3 separate regions of the Homo sapiens genome follow, and all the other regions are linked to region 3. The links are contacts of gene promoters, found by promoter capture Hi-C in human tissues and cell types (Jung and others, 2019). All regions are on one chromosome and are shown on one strand. The core of a region is centred on a gene start or on the middle of the fragment in contact, and the rest is flanking DNA. Distances in the headings are between cores, read along the strand shown. Region 1 overlaps PKNOX1 (PBX/knotted 1 homeobox 1). Region 2 overlaps PKNOX1 (PBX/knotted 1 homeobox 1). Region 3 holds the start of CBS (cystathionine beta-synthase).

Region 1 (3,526 bases), core at 174-2,673, 63 kb after region 3:
CAGAATGGCTAAAACACAATAGTGCTTCCGCATGGATGAACCCTCCAGGCATTCTGCACAATGAAACAAGCAAAGGATCCAGAAGGACAAACACTGTACGATTCCGCTTAACATGAGAGACCTGGAGTCATCGAATTCACAGAGACAGACAGTAGAACGGTGGGTTCCAGGGGCTAGGGGAGGGGGAATCCGGAATGAGTGTTTAATGGGGTCAGAGTTTGAGTTTGAGAAGATGAGAAAGTTCTGGAGATGGATGGTGTTGATGGTTGCCCAACAATGTGAATAAACTTAACACCATTGAACTGTAAATTTTAAAATAGCTAAGATGGTAAATTTTATATTATGTGTATTTTACACAATTTTTCAAAAGAATAAGTAAAATATTTTCAGAAGAAATAAAAGAAAGAAATGAATGGAATTGTGCCTTCCATAAACATGGGACCGGGGGCCCAGTATGCAGATTGAGGACTCACTTCATAATCTGAGGGAGTTCATTCCCAAACCAGGCTGGGGTCAGAGACCTAGAGGGTCCTTCTTGTAGAAAGTCATAAAGATGACCCAGTGAATTCTGAAAGAGCTGGTGGTCTCATGACTCAATGCAGATGTTCACAGTGGCAGAGAGGGAAAGCGAGACCCCCAAATGTAAGTACCTGGGACTGCACTGGTGAGTACGGGCTTCCAGGCTCTCCACTCAACAGAGTTTCACTGTTCATTTTTGTTTTCAGACAAGCAATGTATCGACTGCAGAAATCTTTGCAGAGTTCGTTAACCTTTTCCAGCTCAAGAAGATGAATGCGCAAAACCTGGATTGCTTTTACCATCTAGAGCAGAGAAAATGAAGACTTTCAGAGAAAAAGGTGGCATTATTGTAAGTTATCATGATCCTACATACCAGTTCTTAGTCATTAGATAGAACCATCTCTACTGCCAATAACCAAAGTGGAATAACATCAGAAATCCTCTAAACTGATGTGTTGTTCCGGTGCCACTGACCTGGGCTTTGGTGTTTGGCTGCATCTGGTGTGCAGGGAAGACAAAGGCGCGTGGTGGTGACCTCGGTGCATCCCAGTGCTAGGTGTGTGGGCTGTGAGCCAAAGCCTAGCCCTTCCACTGATTCGCTCTGTGGCAGGCAGGACAAGTGACTCACCCTCATCTACTCCTGTTTCTACATCCACAAATAGTGATACATCCACACTCACCCTAGGCTAGTGCTACATTTTCATAAAGTTCCATTTTGGTGTCTTTGCCTAGTTCTAGATCCTCAAGATTTTCTCTTGCGATTTTTCTAAAAGTTATATCATTTTGTTTTGTTTTGTTTTTTGAGACAGAGTTTCACTCTTATTGCCCAAGCTGGAGGCTGAAGTGCAGTGGTGCGATCTCAGCTCACTACAACCTCTGCCTTCTGGGTTCAAGTGATTCTCCTGCCTCAGCCTCCTGAGTAGCTGGGATTACAGGTGTGCACCACCATGCCCAGCTAATTTTTGTATTTTTAGTAGAGATGGGGTTTCACCATGTTGGTCAGGCTGTTCACGAACTCCTGACCTCAGGTGATCCACCTGCCTCAGCCTCCCAAAGTGCTGGGATTACAGGCGTGAGCCACCACGCCTGGCCAAAGTTGTATAGTTTTATATTAAGTAACTACATTTTGGGGTAATTTGTCCCACAGCAATAGATAACTAATACCAATAATGCAGCCATTTTCATAAGCACCAGCTGCCTATGAATCAGCAGCTCCGAAGCCCATCTCCTTCACCTGTAAATCTGGTGGTAGGAATTCGTAGGTATCTATGCAGTGAATAAATGAATCACTCAGTAACAAAAATGATGGAGTGTCAAACTCTGCTAGGCCCTGTGCTAAACACTCACCAGTCAAGAGAACCTTGGTCCCTGCCAGCCTAGTGGGGTGCAGAGGACACCTGTGCTCTACTCACTGGGCCAAGCCAGGTGTGGGCCAATGGGAAGATGGATGTGGACCACAGACTCAGGGGTGGAGAGAGCATCGGATCCTCACCCAAAGAGCATGCACTGTTAGTCTCATCTCAGAGAGGAGGAGACAGATTCAAGTCAGATAACTCACCCACAAAATCTGTTTCATGGTAAGCATCGAGTATATAATGAGAATTTTCTTAAAAACTAAGACCTCAGCAATTTATTCAGGAAAAATGAGTTTTCCAAAAACCTTTTCTGTTGAAGGCCCTAACCAGGGTTTTGATATGGGACCAAGATGGCTCGAAGGGAATCCAGTGAAGGTTCCCTGATGCCGGATCTTTGTGTACCCAGCTCTGAGAAGTAAACACGTGGTTACACTCTGGCAGGAGAGCACACCCAGAGAGTGTGGTCTGCCCAAAGCTGACAGTGCTGTACAGGTGCCTCAGGTGCAGCTCATTCAGAGCAATCCAGTGATGACGGAACCAAGATGTTCTCCATTGCCTCTGGAGGGCACAGAAAACGCTGGATTTTGGAGCCCTGGCCCTGGGGGGAGGGCATCACAAATCACTGTCAGCCTCAAGACAGAGCTGTCGCCGGGCGTGGTGGCTCACACCTGTAATCCCTGCACTTTGGGAGGCTGAGGCAGGCAGATCACAAGATCAGGAGATCGAGACTATCCTGGCTAACACGGTGAAATCCCGTCTCTACTAAAAATACAAAAAAAATTAGCCGGGCGTGGTGGCGGGTGCCTGTAGTCCCAGCTACTCGGGAGGCTGAGGCAGGAGAATGGCTTGAACCTGGGAGGCGGAGCTTGCAGTGAGCTGAGATCACACCACTGCACTCCAGCCTGGGCAACAGAGCGAGACTCCGTCTCAAAAAAAAAAAAAAAAAAAGACAGAGCTGTCTTGGAGAATACAGCTCAAGTCTGTGTCCATGTCCATGATAAGCCAAGGACAGACACAGGTCACAGACATGCCACCCGAACACCCCAGCCCTACGGACCTTTACAAACACTGTGCAGAGAACTGAATCCCCGTGTCCATTTGGCATGGAGGCTCAAATTATTTTATTTTATTTTATTTTATTTTTATTTTTTGAGACAGAGTCTCACTCTGACACCCAGGCTGGAGTGCAGTGGCACAATCTCGGCTCACTGCAACTTCCGCCTCCTGCGTTCAAGTGATTCTCCTGCCTCAGCCTCCTGAGTAGCTGGGACTACAGGCATGTGCCACCATGCCTGGCTAATTTTGTATTTTCAGTAGAGATGGGATTTTGGCCAACATCGAGACCAGATGTTGGCCAGGCTGGTCTCGAACTCCTGACCTTGTGATCTGCCCACCTCGGCCTCCCAAAGTGCTGGGATTACAGGTGTGAGCCACCACGCCTGGCCTATTTTATTTTATTTTTAAAGGAAAGGGTAGGTTGGGCCTTGAGAGACTGAGGAGGGAAGATTGCTTGAGGCCAGGAGTTTGAGACCATCTGGGGGAATACAGTAAGATGTGTCTACAAAAATAAAATAAATCTAAAAATAAAAACTAAATAAATAAAAGATACCTAGAGAAGGCTGGAAGACTTGGGGATATCCACATTACACACA
Region 2 (3,817 bases), core at 840-3,339, 43 kb after region 3:
AATATTTCTTATTTTCTGGATTTGCTAGACCATTACTCACTTCCTCATCAGTCTTTAGATGGAGAGATAGAATCTTATTAGTCATAAACATCATTGTAAGGCTAGAATAAACCTTATAAGCCAGTTCTTCCTTTTCATAAATGAAGCCCTGGAAGCCTAGAGAGACTGGGGCTGCCTGAGGCCCCACATTAATAAAGTTCATGCCCGTCCTCTCACCTCTGAACTAAGGGAGCTGGAAATACAACACAGTGCCTCAGTTTTCTGTAACCAATGAAAACATTGCTTGAAACAATACAGTCAGCTGTCACTACTAATTACCAACAAGACTCATAATTTTGCATGTGGTTTTTAAAATACTAAGTCTGCTGACTTTAGCCTCTAAGCATGAACAGTTGTTGGGAGTTATAACACTCTGGACAACAAAGATTAAAAACCCTCTGAAATTGTTTTAATGTACCTTTTAAATCTTCAGGAACTTTCTTGTCATGAAAATTTATAATATGAACTATGAAAGGGATTATGTTAGCTTACTGATGAATCATTATCTTCTTGTAACTATCAAAATAATTAGATTTGTGGAAAACTATAATAAAAAACATAAAAGCTACCTGTTTCCATTTTCTGCCTGAACAGCCAATGAATGAACAAAGTAAGGAATTTAAGAAAAGATTCTTGGACATGTAAATGGACCTGACTAGTCCGATGCAGTGTGGTCCTAGTTTCTCAATATGCAGGGGTGACTACAGACCCTACATGTCACCAGAAAACATGAAAACATTCTCAATGTTTTACATAAAATGGAGAAGCAGCTTTTGGTGACATGAGCTTTATAAAATAAAACATCCATAAAGCAAGTTTCTATTTTTAATTTTTTTGCTTTGATAAATCAATTGCTTCACAAAAATCCTTTTTAAAGACAACAATCCAAGAAAACATATTGTTACAGTATTCACATTTCAAAGATTGTCAGTTTCAAAGACCGAATATAACTAGAACGAAAGATTGCTGAGTTCTTTCTGTCTCTAAGTGCCAGGAATGGGCCTTCACAAGGGGCAGAACCCCCTCTGGACACCCTGGAGTTTGTCTCAATGAAAAGTGCCCACTGCTACCTCACACAGGCAGGAGATGGATCACTCTCAGGTCACACAGACACAACTCCCAGAGCCCTTAGCCGTGAGGGTTTCTTTTGCATGCTCGATAAACACTTCCACTCATCTTACTATCTGGAATCAAAGCGCAAAGGCCAAGCTAGTCCCTCGGTGGGAGCGAGCTGGAACCCAGCACAGCCAGCCCTGCCACTCCTGCTCCACAGGTGCAGGGCAGGAATAACAGCAACATGCTCAATTTGGGTCTCAAGACACATTCAAAAGGAGCCTTCATAGGGAAAAACTCAACAAGAATAAAACTGGAACCGAATCTGATCATTTAAAACGAAATCTTAGAGGGGGTCACACTTTTACAGATTCTCTCCACTGTCCAAGGGCTGGAGAACAGGTGTTTTAAGGTGCCAACTGACCTCAAACATGCTGGGCAGTGATTTTGCAAACTGAAACAGCTTGCCATGTAGAAGCTAGTTAAAAGCACCCATTGCAGAGAGGTTAAAGGAAACTCAGGCTATGTCCATAAGCACCCTTTCTCTAAGTGATCTTTATCCTATTCCTCTGAATTTAGTAAGAATTTAGGAAAGTTGAAGAAAGTTTGCAGCTGGAGAGAATGCACACTGTATCATTCAGCATGGGTGTTTAACTCTCAGGCCAGAGCTTCCCAGTGCCACCGAGGTTCAGGCAGTGCTCTCTTTTTATAGATGGGGGTCTCACTGTGTTGCCCAAGATGGAGTGCAGTGGCTATTCACAGGTGCAAGCATAGTGCACTGCAGCCTCAAACTCCTGGCACATGCCATCCTCTGCCTCAGACTCCCGAGTAGCTGGAACTAGAGGCACGCCCTACTGCGCCGGGCAGGGGCAGCACTCTTAAATTCAATCCACTGCTTAGTGAATGTGATTTCTAGTGGGGGAAAGAAACGGTGACCTATACATGAGTCTACATTCTGTGAATGGCTTCCACTAATCTACACTAAAGAGCAAGCAGCCGAAGAGACGGAGGGTGGTGAGGGAAGGAGGAAGGGCTGGCTGGCTTTCATGGGTGCTTATTTTAAGGAGTCCAACAAAGTTGGAACTTAGGTTAAAAATGATCTTATAGACTTGACTTAAAATATGAGAAGACAGTTCACAAATGAGGAACGCAATGGTGGCTTTAAGATGTCATTCTCGGCCGGGCGCGGTGGCTCACACCTGTAATCCCAGCACTTTGGGAGGCTGAGGCAGGCAGATCACCTGAGGTCGGGAGTTCGAGACCAGCCCGACCAACATGGAGAAACCCATCTCTACTAAAAATACAAAATTAGCCGGGTGTGGTGGCGCATGCCTGTAATCCCAGCTACTCAGGAGGCTAAGGAAGGAGAATTGCTTGAACATAAGAGGTGGAGGTTGCAGTGAGCTGAGATTGCACCATTGCCCTCCAGCCTGGGCAACAAGAGCAAAACTCTGTCTCAAAAAAAAAATGTCATTCTCTCCCCAAAAGACTTGATAACCAAGTCTTTCAGTAAAGCTCCTGAAAGATTTTAAAACAAATTTCTGTGTGTTTCCCACTGACTTCTTAACCTCAATTAATATATTCTTTTGGGAAAAATCAATTCCAGAAAAAACTCTTCACTAGCTTAAAATGTCCCTTGGCTTACAACCAATCATTACTGTTGACTCTCAAGAACTGAAGACATTCCCGACCCTGTAAACAAATGAACTTCAGCCATACCATTTCAGATGATATGAAGACATTCTGTATGAAACACCGTGGCCTGTTTTCTGAGAAAAAGCACCACTCCTAAGTAAACAATGAAAACAAATCAAAACCAAAGAAAACAGAACCCAGCCCACTCTCTCGGTTCATCTTGTTACCAGGAAACAGAAGTCCTACAGTTATTCCAAATCTCACGTGGTCAAGTGAGCAGGAGGGCTCTGAAAAGTCGAAAGCAACAACGTACAAGAGAACACTGACACCAGGAGACCAGCCACAAACGCAAACGTAGGAGCCAACCCGTGGGGGCTGCCGAGGTGCCCTCGCCAGACCAGCTCGCTGCTGGGACTCCAGGGATGTCCGCTAGTTAAGTAATAAAGTCTGAATATCTGCTGTTTGCCCTAGCTCTGAGCCAATGGGGTAGAGCACATTTTATATTAGTTTATAATAAACATTCTGTGCATAACATATTTTGAAGTTAAAACTTTTAAAACAATACACAGCTAACATGGTAAAGCGACCATGCAACTGTGGTCAGATTTAAATTAGACTGGAGTATGTACGGTGAGAGCTCCTAACGGGTCACTGGCTACCATTTCACCTCACTTACCTGAAGTCCTGTTTAGCAGATATCTTTCGATATATGTTTAGATCAAGTGTAAAATGCAATCTGAGCATTACATATCAACAAAAATTTGCAGATATCAAAATTTCATTAAATAGCTGTTTCTTTTATAGTAGTAAATGTTCATCACTACCCGGGGAGAGCAAAGAACCATGGAACGGTAGCTAACTTTGGGCAGGTTCATTAAATTTGGTCAATTCAGAACATTCCAAATTGAAATATTAATAGCAAGCATGTATTGTTTCTTCTCTAGAAATTTTATCCTCAATATAGTCATCATCCAATTCATAACGAATTTATAAAAATAGCTTTTTTATCCAATAATTCCAGCAAGGTAAAAATAGGAGTTTCTTTTTCTATATAGCAAATGAAACAGGCTCACTGAACATGAGGGGACTT
Region 3 (3,775 bases), core at 178-2,677:
TTCCCAGCCCTGTGGAGGCCGCCAGCCATCCCTGCCATTTCTCGTCTGGTGGCAGCACATCTCATCTCTGCCGCCATCTCCACATGGCCTTTTTCTCTCCGCGTGTCTGTGTCCACGTCTCTCTTCTTATAAAGACTGGACAGGATTTTTTTTTTTTTTTTTTTTTTTTTTTTTTTTTCTGGAGACAGTCTCGCTCAGTCGCACAGGCTGGAGGACAGTGGCGCGATCCCGGCCTCCAATGCCACCTTCCAGAGCCTTCATGATGTAACTCCATCCCTGTCCCCTCCCCACATCGCCGGCTTTATTGTTCTTCGTGTCAGTTCCTGCCAGTGGACATTTAATTCTAATTCACGTCTCACTCCCTCCCCTACTGTGAGCCCCACGTGGCAGAGACCGCGGCGGAGCTGCGCGGGCCGGAGGAGGCTGCGGAGCATCGCTCTGACCTGAGCCGGGGACGCTGCGGAGGCGCAGCACGTTCCTCTGCCCAGAGCTGATGGGCACCGTCCGTGTCTTTCGCTGCAGGTCCGGGGGGAGACTCGGGGGCCTGGGATCCCCCATTTAGCCATAGGGCGGGGGGATCAGGTTCAGCCTCTGAAAGTCCAGAGCACGATGTTTGGGAAACGGCCCCGCCCGCGGCCTCCGGGACCTGGCGAAGGAGCCCCGCGGGGCGCCCCTGCTACCACCCTGCGCGGAGTCGGCCCCGTCCCCGAGAGCGCCCGGCAGCCCCTGGCCGTGGGCCGCACCGGAGCCGCGCAAGGCGACTGTTCTGCGCCTCGGCTCGGGGTTCGGACCCGGCTCTGGGCGCGGTCACGCGGGGCGCTGCGCACGGCGTCCGGCGGCCACAGAGCGCGGCCATCGAGTCCCGCCCCGGCGCGGCGCCCCCTCCCGGGCCCGCGACACACGCCCTCGGGGTCGGTCCTCGAGGACGCGCAGGGCCCCCCACCCACCAGGACGCACGTTTCAAGCTCATCAGTAAAGGTTCCTTAAATTCCCGAAGGGCAAGAAGTTAACCAAGTAAAACAGCATCGGAACACCAGGTAGAAGACACCACCGGGGTCCGCGGGTGGGGGTGGCTGGAACCCGGGGCGGGCGGGCTCAGGCGAAGAGGAAGGCGGGGGAGGGGGCGGCGACCCGGGTCTGCGGTTGAATCAACAGGGCGTGGGAATGGGGCGGGCGGACTGGGGTGGGGGCATGCCGGGGTCCCGGGGAGGGCGGGGGTCGGGCAGGCCGGAGGGTCCCAGGCTGCGGCGGGGTGGGGAAGGGGTGGGGGGGAGGGGCCCGGGCTGGGTGGGGTGGAGGAGGGGCTGGGGGGGCGGGTGCTCTGCCACGAGACATTGGCCGGCGCCGGCCTCCGCCCCCGCCTCTCCGCCAATCACCGCCCGCCTGCTCCCCTCGCCGTGGGTCCCCGCGAGGCCGCCACCCCGGGGTCGCCGTCTCCGCCTCGCCGCAGTCGGGGCAGCCGCTCGCCCCTCTTTTCCATGTATCCGTCCAGGTGAGATCCGGCCCCACCGAGACTCGCTCCCCTCTCTGGACAGAGGATCTCAACTGGGTCCCGGTTTCCCTCTCCGCGCCTCCGCCCAGAGTTGCATCATCTGCACCGAAAGGCGGCGAGACAGGGTCTCCCAAGACCCCCGCCCCACCGGCGCCCACGCCTGCGGTCTTGACCGCCCAGAAGATGGGGGCTGGCCGTGCACGTGGCCCCGGGCTCCCACCCCAGCCCCCGCGCCGGCGGAGTGGACCCCACTGGCGGCGAGTCCTGGAGCGTGGAGCAGGGACGCGGGGTGGGAATCCGGGGGAGATGCACGTTTCGGTGCCCAGCATTGAGTTCGCTGCATTGTGGATGGGAAATGGCTGTTTGCAAATCGCCCTTTTTGGCGGACCGTGTGGGGTGGCGGTAAACGCTGTCGTTGCGCGGGCGGCACGCGAGGTGGGTGCCCGCTGGGGGAGGGACGCGGGGCTCTGCCCAGGTTGCGTTCGGGGGATGGAGGTTTTCCTGGGACCTCACTTCCCTGAGCCCCAGGCGAGACCGCAGCTGAGCTGTAGGATGCAAGCGGGAGGCGGAGCGTGGGTGGGAGAGCGGAGCGCGAAATTCTCGGCTTCCCGAGGATCTTCTGGGCTTACTTGTCCCCAGCTTTGTCCCAAAGTGTCGCTTCCGGAGGCGGAGTGGCCGGCGGTTTCCGGGTCTCAGTAGGGTCTGGATCTCCCACCTGGAAACCTAGAGGAGTTTCCCGCTCTCCGTGCGCGTGGCCTTCCCCAGGCCCCTCCGGGAGTGCTGGCGCGCGAGTGCAGGGGTGCCCCGGGAACGTCGTGACCCCAAGGGGGTCTTGTGGTTTAAGGAGCGAACGGAACCGGCCAGGCGATGCCAGCTGAACCCGCCTTCCCGGGACGCACGTGCATCCGGCCGCCCGGCGCTGTTGTCTTGGGGAGCCCGCGGGTTCGGGTCTGGGTCGCCTGGCGAGCTTTCCGCCGAGCGCCTCTGAGTTCTACAGAGCCCCGACGGCTTGCGATCTGCGTTCCCGGCAGTCCCTTACCTTGCGAGAGAGGGCTCCAGGGCGAGGCGAGGGGCCAAAAGCAAGGCGCTGGGCCGCCTGCGTCTGCCGGGGCCTCGGGTCCACGGCTTTCTGGAAGATTCGGCGGCGGAGCATGCGCGCCCCAGGCCAGACAGGGCCTGTGCCAGACGGAGAGTCCCTTCCCGTAGGTGACTCCCGCGACCCGCGGAGGAAGGTGCTGCTCCGCTCACGGCGGCGGCTTCTTACAAGGTTGGGATAGAAAGAAAAGCGTGGGACACGAACCTCTGAAAGCGGGTGCATTTTTCTGGGGAAGAGAAGATCCAACGCCTTCGGATTTTCAGACAAGTCCGTGGTCCCAAGACCTTGAAAGCACCACCCTCCAGGGTCGTTTGAAGCCGCTTTGGCCCCCAGTCTGGTGAATTGCAAAGGTGGAGGGGAGGCTGGGAAGTCCAGGAGGCCAAGCTGAGGCCTGGGTAGGGCCTGTGCGCAGAGACCACCTGAACAGCATACTCCAAGGGCTTCCAAAGGCAGCCGGCTTCCGCAACTTTTTCTTTTTTAATAGGCTTTTTAAAAAAAAAGCAGTTTTAGGCCGGGCGGGGTGGCTCACTCCTATAATCCCAGCACTTTGAGAGGCTAGGCGGGCGAATCACCTGAGGTCAGGAGTTCGAGACCAGCCTGGCCAACATGGTGAAACTTCGTCTCTACTAAAAATACAAAAATTAGCCGGATGTGGTGGCGGGCGTCTGTAATCCTACTCAGGAGGCTGAGACAGGAGAACTGCTTGAACCCGGGAGGTGGAGGTTGCAGTGAGCCGAGATCGCACCACTGCTCCAGCCTGGGCAACAAGAGGGAGACTCCGTCTCGAAAATTTAAAAAAGAGCAGTTTTAGATTTAGAAAAATTGAAAAAATAGATAGAGTTCCCCCAGTTTCCCCTGTTATTAAGATCTTAAACTGATGTCGTATATTTGTTACTTTATTTATTTTCTTTTATTTTTATTTTTATTTTTATTTTTTGAGACGGAGTCTCGCTCTGTTGCCAGGCTGGAGTGCAGTGGCGCGATCTCGGCTCACTGACCTCCCCCTCCCGGGTTCAAGCGATTCTCCTGCCTCAGCTTCCCGAGTAGCTGGGACTACAGGTGTGCGCCACCATGCTTGGCTAATTTTTGTAGTTTTAGTAGAAACGGGGTTTCACCATGTTGGCCAGGATGGTCTCGATCTCTTGACCTCATGATCCGCCCGCCTCGGCCTCCCAAAGTGCTGGGAT

Evidence for each region. Contacts are between HindIII fragments. The study calls those that stand out against the background at their distance.
Region 1: a fragment that was not itself captured here is called in contact with the fragment with the promoter of CBS in region 3 in 3 of the 25 tissues and cell types used here (hippocampus, lymphoblastoid cells and mesenchymal stem cells).
Region 2: a contact is called between a fragment that was not itself captured here and the fragment with the promoter of CBS in region 3, in 8 of the 25 tissues and cell types used here (IMR-90 fibroblasts, aorta, dorsolateral prefrontal cortex and 5 more).

Annotation. Positions count from the first base shown.
Region 1 is chr21:43,010,363-43,013,888 of GRCh38, reverse strand. PKNOX1 (PBX/knotted 1 homeobox 1) reads right to left here. Exons shown (of 11, transcript NM_004571.5): 5 at 651-821. Among named protein-coding and RNA genes, the nearest start is that of PKNOX1, 38 kb to the right of the region's middle. The HindIII fragment of the contact is 7,946 bases long and covers 1-3,526 here.
Region 2 is chr21:43,030,612-43,034,428 of GRCh38, reverse strand. It overlaps PKNOX1 (PBX/knotted 1 homeobox 1), which reads right to left. Exons shown (of 11, transcript NM_004571.5): 11 at 498-3,817. Among named protein-coding and RNA genes, the nearest start is that of CBS, 43 kb to the left of the region's middle. The HindIII fragment of the contact is 5,777 bases long and covers 1-3,817 here.
Region 3 is chr21:43,073,487-43,077,261 of GRCh38, reverse strand. It overlaps CBS (cystathionine beta-synthase), which reads left to right and starts at 1,427. Exons shown (of 17, transcript NM_000071.3): 1 at 1,427-1,492. The HindIII fragment of the contact is 35,360 bases long and covers 1-3,775 here.